Linked DNA regions of Homo sapiens: region 2 is linked to region 1. The links are contacts of gene promoters, found by promoter capture Hi-C in blood cells and fetal thymus (Javierre and others, 2016). All regions are on one chromosome and are shown on one strand. Each heading gives the region's core, a stretch centred on a gene start or on the middle of the fragment in contact. The rest is flanking DNA. Distances are from core to core; before and after follow the strand shown. Region 1 holds the start of ZNF672 (zinc finger protein 672). Region 2 overlaps PGBD2 (piggyBac transposable element derived 2).

Evidence for each region. The method cuts DNA at HindIII sites, captures the fragments that hold promoters and counts their contacts. A CHiCAGO score of 5 or more calls a contact.
Region 2: a contact is called between a fragment that was not itself captured here and the fragment with the promoter of ZNF672 in region 1, in 4 of 17 cell types (total CD4 T cells, erythroblasts, naive CD4 T cells and 1 more). The highest score is 7.2, in total CD4 T cells.

Annotation. Positions count from the first base shown.
Region 1 is chr1:248,836,240-248,840,084 of GRCh38, reverse strand. It overlaps ZNF672 (zinc finger protein 672), which reads right to left and starts at 1,861. Exons shown (of 4, transcript NM_024836.3): 1 at 1,534-1,861. RefSeq lists enhancers at 539-618, 959-1,228, 926-1,425, 1,426-1,927 and a silencer at 1,519-1,918. The HindIII fragment of the contact is 11,934 bases long and covers 1-3,845 here.
Region 2 is chr1:248,916,967-248,920,811 of GRCh38, reverse strand. It overlaps PGBD2 (piggyBac transposable element derived 2), which reads right to left. Exons shown (of 3, transcript NM_170725.3): 3 at 1,666-3,845. The coding sequence ends at 2,449. Among named protein-coding and RNA genes, the nearest start is that of PGBD2, 13 kb to the right of the region's middle. The HindIII fragment of the contact is 1,620 bases long and covers 1,156-2,775 here.

The DNA.
Region 1 (3,845 bases), core at 612-3,111:
ATTATTATAGTGTTTCATATGGAAAGGTCAAAATATTGCTAAATCTTGCCGGGCATGGTGGCTCACGTCTGTAATCCCAGCACTTTGGGAGGCCAAGGCGGGCGGATCACTTGAGGTCAGGAGCTCGAGACCAGCCTGGCCAACACAGTGAAACCCTGTCTCTACGAAAAATACAAAAATCAGCCAGGTGTGGTGGCGCCCGTCTGTAGTCTCAGCTACTGGGAAGGGTGAGGTGGGAGGATCACTTGAGGCCAGGAGGCGGAGGTTGCAGCGAGCCGAGATCGCGCCACTGTACTCCAGCCTGGACGACAGAGCAAGACTCCGTCTCAAAAAAAAAAAAAAAAAAAAAAAATTGCTAACACTGAGAATTGCGGTTGCCCGGTGCTTAGGATTTACTCTGCCTAGGACAGTCCTTCTTGTTGTTGTTGTTTGTTTGTTTTTTGAGACAGGGTCTTGCTGTCACCCAGCTTGGAATGCAGTGATTTGATCACTGTCTCACTGCAGCCTCGCCCTCCTGGACTCAAGCAACCCTCCAGCCTCAGCCTCCTGCGGAGCTGGGACTATGAGCAGGTGCTACCACACCCGGCTAATTATTATTATCATTATTTTTTTTGTAGAGACGAGGGTTCTCACCATGTTGCCCAGGCTGGTCTTGAACTCCCGAGCTCAAGAGAGCCTCCCACTTTGGCCTCCCAAAGTGCTAGGATAACAGGCATGAGCCACTGTGCCCGGCCCTGGGCAGTTCTTAAGAGCGACTCTGAGTAAGGGGCTTAACTCCTGTCTCCACTCCAGGCATCCTAAACGGTCTGCAGCCGTTTTCAGTCCTTCCCCCTCAACCCCTAAGAATCCCTCACATGATTAGAACAGCACAGCATGGGCCTTCCATAGCTCCACTTGCGCGAACTGTGGGCTCCAAGATGAAAGAAGGGAAGCTGGCTACTCATCTGGGGACTTGGTGCCTGGTACTTAAGAGCGAAGCACAACTATTCGCCGAATGCGGAACACGGCACCTGAACAGGTCGCTTTCCGTGGCCCACAGCAGCGCAGCCAATCCTGGGGCGCCTCAGTCGGCGCGCGTCACAAGTTGCTGGGCAAACTTTCTTTGAGCGAGCCCCTTCCCAACCCCGAGCCTACCCTAGCCCCTTGCCCGTGGCGCCAGCCGACTTGGAGGGCGAGACCGGGCACCAAAAACGTAGTGGGGAACGTTTAACGCTGCCAGAACCCGGTGGCGGCCGTTGCCCCCTTAAGTCGGCTCAGCCTGGCGACGTTTGTCGTGGTGACGCCAGCCCCGAAAAGGTCACCCGAGGCGGACCAGCGAGGACAGGCGGAGGGGAAGGCCTGGGAGGAGCAGGCCGCGCGGACGTGTCCGGCCAATCGCTCGCCCCGCAGTATCCCCGCGTCACTCGCAGCCCGGGCGGCGCTCCCGACCGCCGCAGACACCAGTCGCCCGAGGCAGATGGGAGAAGACTAGCCACAGCTGAGGACTGCTGCCCCGAGCCACCCTTGCCCTCCCCTGCCCTTCAGTCCCCTCACCGGTCGCCGACTGCCTCCTCAGACACCGCGCGGTTCCCACTCAGCCGGCTGCCGACCCCCGCCTCCCGGACTGCGGGACTGGGGCGGGGGAGCGAGGAAGGGGCTAACGGCGCGCGCGGCCTCCGAGTGGGGGGAGCGGGGAGGCGCCCGAGCGTCCGGCCCCTCGGGATGGGGAGGTCACGCTCCTGTCCCTCTCGCCCGCGTCGGCTAGTGGTCAGTCTGGCGCGGGCAGTGTCACCGGTTGCTGGGAAGACTGGGAGGCCAGCGAGCAGCGTACCAACCACTCAGCCTCTCCGGCCCCAGCTGGAGCCGGGAAGCAGGCGGGGCTAAAAGAGAAAGCCTGCGGGGGGACTCCACTCCCGCCTCCCGCGCGGGCCAAGGCCCCGCCCTCTCTTCTGGCTTAACCAATTCCTGCCTCCCGCTTTGTCTGTTGGCCCACCCCTGGGCCTCGTCCCGCCCAATCAGAGGAAAGGGCGCCGATCCCTGCGCGCGCCTCAGCCCCCAGCCGCGGAGTCCCGGGAGCTAGGCGGTCCACCGTCTAGTCTTCCAGCAGCTCTTCCCGCGGCCGCTGGCGGGACACAGACAGGTGTACCCTTCGGTGCTTCCGGCGCGGTAGCCGGTGCCCGGCGCGGACGGGGCCGCGGCAGCCATCCCCGTAGTTAAGTTAGCGCCTTCTTATTAAGTGAGGCCAGACTGGATAGCTATTATCTCTCAACCCTCACCACAACCCTGCCAGGGGAAATATGAGCATTTATCCTGTATTTTAGGTAAGGACCCCACAAGTTAATGATACGCCCAAAGTCGCAATGCCAGGGATAGGGGTTACTCCTGGTCGGCTTGCCAGCTGCCTCTCCATGAGCTTCCTGGTTGAACTGCCTGTCCAAATGTTGACCCTAATGTCTTCTACTAGGAAATGCTACTAGTATTCCTTTCCGGAAATGCATTTTGGGAACCTGGCCATCCTTTAGTGTGCCTATATCATCAGAACAGACGCCCAGGGATGGCCCTCAAGGTCCTTTACTGCTGTAATCTTCCTTTGGAGGTCACTTAGTACCACTCTTCTGAGCTCTGCTCAGGGGGTCCCCTAATTAGTGTACTTCGACCTGCCATGCTTGGCCTGGAAAACTCTTACCCTCTTCTCTGTTTTAATTTGTAAAACCTTAGTCAAATGCCATCTCCATAAACCTATGCTAGAATGCCCCTCTCTGTCCTCAGTCCTGGGGACATATCTATGCTGCAGCGCAACCTCCCGCATGTTGATACTGTTGTTATAGTCAGATGAATACTGTTCCCCCATAGCTTAAGGGACAGGCCTTGTCCTACTCATGAACAATTGATCCCTTGAAGCATGAGCAGAGGGCCAGCACGCCACAGATGATCAATGAGTGTTTGCTGACCCGCATATGACAACACGGATTAAGGAAGACAAATCTGGTAGCAGCAGGCAAGAAAGCTGAAAAGCAAGACACAGGATGCAGGTCTGGAGTGATCAGGGCCTGAACCAGGAAGGGATAACATTGAGAGAGACATGGAAAATGCGCTTGAAGTATATATATTTTTATTGTAAAGAATCATACACAGATAAGGTAGTATTATATAGAGAATGATTAGTTGAGGATATTTCCAGAGTCTTTAAGCCAGAGAAATGTACTAATTTAGACATTTCTGGACTCATTGCTCAGTACTGATGTCATGTTTTTAAGGACACTGACACACTTGGCTAATCCCAGAGACATGAAGAGGATGGTGACTAGGGTGGTCACATAATTAAAGGGGCTGGGGATATTTAACCTAGAAAGAGAAACATTTTTTGTGCACATAATGACTGTACACAAATTCTAACAAACTTTCATGTGAAAGAGGACTGGATTAGATGACTTTCTTCTGTGTAGCTTTGGAGGGAAAAACTCAAACAATGGGGGGAAAGAACAGGAAGCTGGATTTAGGTTTCCTATGTTATGGAAGTCATCACAGTGGGGGATGATAATTGTAACAGGAAGATGGAGGGTAGTGAAAGAAAGTTCAAGGATGAAGTTATGTGTATATTTGTCAATTAAAAATATCACATCCAAATGGTTTTATTTCTCTACACATCTACATCAATAAATGACAACTCTTAATGTGGTTCTGTAAATACTCAAAATGTTTATGGAAGGTCTACTATATGCCAGGTAGTATTCTAGACGTTGGAGATAACAGCTGTGAACCTACCAGATGAATCTCCCCAAAGTTCTGATTGTATCACATTCCTGCTCAGTAATAGTCAAAAAAGTCTGTACAATCACCAAATGAAGTTTACTCTTCTGGTGTAA
Region 2 (3,845 bases), core at 716-3,215, 81 kb before region 1:
AAACAACAGATGCTGGAGAGGATGTGGAGAAATAGGGACGCTTTTACACTGTTAGTGGGACCGTAAATTAGTTCCACCATTGTGGAAGACAGTGTGGCGATTCCTTAAGAATCTAGAACTAGAAATACCATTTGACCCAGCAATCTCATTACTGGGTATATACCCAAAGGATTATAAATCATTCTACTACAAAGACACATGCACACATATGTTTATTGCAGCACTATTCACAATAGCAAAGACTTGGAACCAACCCAAATGTCCATCAATAATAGACTAAAGAAAATGTGGCACATATACACCATGGAATACTATGCAGCCATAAAAAAAGGATGAGTTCATGTCCTTTGCAGGGACATGGATGAAGCTGGAAACCATCATTCTCAACAAACTATCACAAGAACAGAAAACCAAACATCGCAAGTTCTCACTCATAAGTGGGAGTTGAACAATAAGAACACATGGACATAGGGAGGGGAACCTCATACCAGGACCTGTCAGGGGGTGGGGGGCTAGGGGAGGGATAGCATTAGGACAAATACCTAATGTAGGTGACAGGTTGATGGGTGCAGCAAGCCACCATGGCACGTGTATACCTATGTAACAAAAACTGCACATTCTGCACATGTACCCCAGAACTTAAAGTATAATTAAGAAAAAAAAAAGATATATACTGGGAGGCTGAGGTGGGCAAATCACTTGAGCTCAAGAGTTCAAGACCAGCCTGGCCAACATGGTGAAACACCATCTCTACTAAAAATAGAAAAATTAGCCGGGTGTGGTGGTGGGTGCCTGTAATCCCAGCTACTTGGGAGGCTGAGGCAGGAGAATCACTTGAGCCCAGGAGACAGAGGATGCAGTGAGCCGAGATTGCGCACCACTGCATTCCAGCCTGGGTGACAAGGCAACTCCATCTCAAAATAAAAACAAAAGGTACAAATGGCAAACAGGTATAAAAAAAGTGCTCAACATCACTGATCAACAGAAAAATGCAAGTGAAAACTACATTGAGATATCTCATCCGGGCAGAAATGGCTGTAATCCAAAAGACAGACAATAACAAATGCTGGCAAGGATGTGGAGAAAAGGGAACCCTTGAACACTGCTGGTGGGAATGTAAATTAGTACAACCTCTATGGAGAACAGTTTGAAGCTTCCTCAAAAACTAAAAATAGAGCTACCATATGATTCAGGAATCCCATTCCTAAGTATACATCCAAAAGAAAAAAAAATCAGTATATTGAAGAAAGATCTGAACTCATGTTTATTTTCTGCACTATTCTCAATAGTCATGATTTGGGAGCAACCTAAGTGTCCATCAACAGAAGAATGGATAAAGAAAATGTACATATACACAATGAAGTGTGATTAATATTTAGCCACAAAAAAATGATATTCAGTCATTTGCAACAACATGAATGGAACTGGAGGTCATTATGTTAAGTGAAATAAGCCAAGCAAAGACAGACAAACTTCAGATGTTCTCACTTATTTGTGGGAGCTAAAAATGAAAACAATTGAACTCATGGACACACAGAGTGGAAAGAAGGTTACCAGAGCTTGGAAAGGGTAGTTAGGGGGTGGGGGAGAGTGGGAATAGTTAATGGGTATGAAAAAATAGAAAGAATGAGTAAGACCTAGTATTTGCTAGCACAACAGGGTGAATATAGTTAAAAATAATTTAATTGCACATTTTAAAATAACTAACAGTATAATTGGATTGTTTGAAACACAAAGGACAAGTGTTTGACAAGATGGATACCCCATTTACCCTGATGTGATTTTTATACATTGCATGTTTGTATCAGAATATCTCATGTAACCCATAAAAATACACTCCTACTATGTACCCACAAAATTAAAAAAATAATTTTTTTTACAAAAATGAATCTCACATTGATATATGTGTATTAGGAAAATATTTTCATTAAGAAAATATGAAATCTGCACCTCTAGCCCTCTGACTAAATACAAGGCAGATTATCCCTCAAAAGTTTGATAAACTTGGATTAATATGAAATAAATATGATTAAGAAATCCATCACATTTACATGATATTTATACACTATTGCCTATCTTAGATTATAAACCATGGCATGCAATGGTAAAGTCTTCTTACTGTTCTTGCAAGTTTTCCTTTGATTATTCTTGCTAGGATTCAAATATACCCCAAAGCACAACTTTTATTTGAATAAAAAGTGATCCATAACTTTAAATAAATAAGTTCAAAAATATAAATATAAATGAATATAAATATTAATTTATATCACATGTAGGCATAACACAACACAATAAAAAAGATAACTGTATTGTGGGTAGGGAGAAAATAGAAAATCAAGTCATTAGAAATTCAGGTCTTTTTTCCAACACAAAACAGAAGTGCTCAACTGCCATCTGTATTTAACTGTAAACATCTCATTATAAACCAAAGAAGCATGTCTCATGATGTCACCGGATGTGGTACTCCCTGAAGCATTTGGCATGGACACCCTTCTGGCACTTCTCACACCGGGTGTTGGTCTGTGAGTGGCAGAGGGCACACCGGGTCCTCTTGTCCTGATGGATAATCCAGTGCCCAATCATATCGAAGCGGCTCTCAGTCTCCAACCGCCTGCTTCGCCTCCCTTGAGATGTTGTGTCAGCATTGCTCTCCAGATACACACAGGCAATGTATCTCCGGAAGGCAAGGAGGTCCACCTGGGCATCTTGGCAGCAGATTCTATGCAGCTGCCATGCATTGTTGAGGGCAGCATCAATGACATAGCCAATAAAGCTTGAGTACCACTTCATGCCTCGGATCTTCACCTTGTACTTGGCAATATTCTGATCCATCCTACCAACGCCACCCACCTTCTCCTGATACAGCTTCACCAGTGATGGCTGGTGGACCTGAGTCCGCGTTTTAGCTGCTCCAGAGTGACGACTGGTCAGCCTCACTGGCTCTATGCCCACAGCATTGGAGCAAATGTTGACCACGCTGCTATCGTGCCAGCGGCACACGATGATCTCCTCACTCTCATCGACTTTGTAATCAAATGAACCCCTCTTCATTTTTTTCAGTTCTTTGGGGTCTTTTAGGGGACATCGCTCAGTCCTGTACTCACGAACAGTTCCTGTGGCTTTCACCCCCTTTTTCCTCAAAATGGACATCAGTTTAACACTTGTGAAAACCTTGTCAAAAAATATGTGATATGGCAGAAAACCACGCTCCTGAAGCGCATCCACAAATTTTATTACCATACTGCCTCCTAGATCCAAGCTCCTGTCTGGCTTGGTAAACAGTGTGCCCTGTGAGGGCTCAAACCACACCAAGTAGCCTCTGCTGGTTGTCCCACACCAAATCTTGTAGCCAAGTCGCACAGGCTTCCCCCTGTGCAGCTGCTTGGACCCCCGGTGCCCAAAGTACTCACACATAGACTCGCCAAAGCTGTAGAACTCTTCCAAGGGTGCATGCTTCTGGAAATTGCAGTTCATCCGGATGATGAGAGGTCTGACCTTGGCAAACCTATCACTTGCATCAAGTTCGTTGTTATCTGCAAAATGTAAGTATGAGAAGATTAGTTCAAATCTGTCCCTTCTAATTGCATCAGCCACAAGATGATGATGTGAATCGGGAGAGGTTTCCCAGAACATCCTTCTCCTTGGATAAGAGATGTACCCACTTAAAATCAAAATGCCCAAAACACACTTCAATTCCTGAGCCGTAAGACTCAAATTGACATTTTTCTGCCAAGCATAACGATTGGTTTCATTAACAATGAAATTAATTGTTCCTTCATCAAAAAACAACTCAAAAAGGCCCACGGGACTCAGCTCTTGGCTTTTCAGATCCTCAATATGAGGAT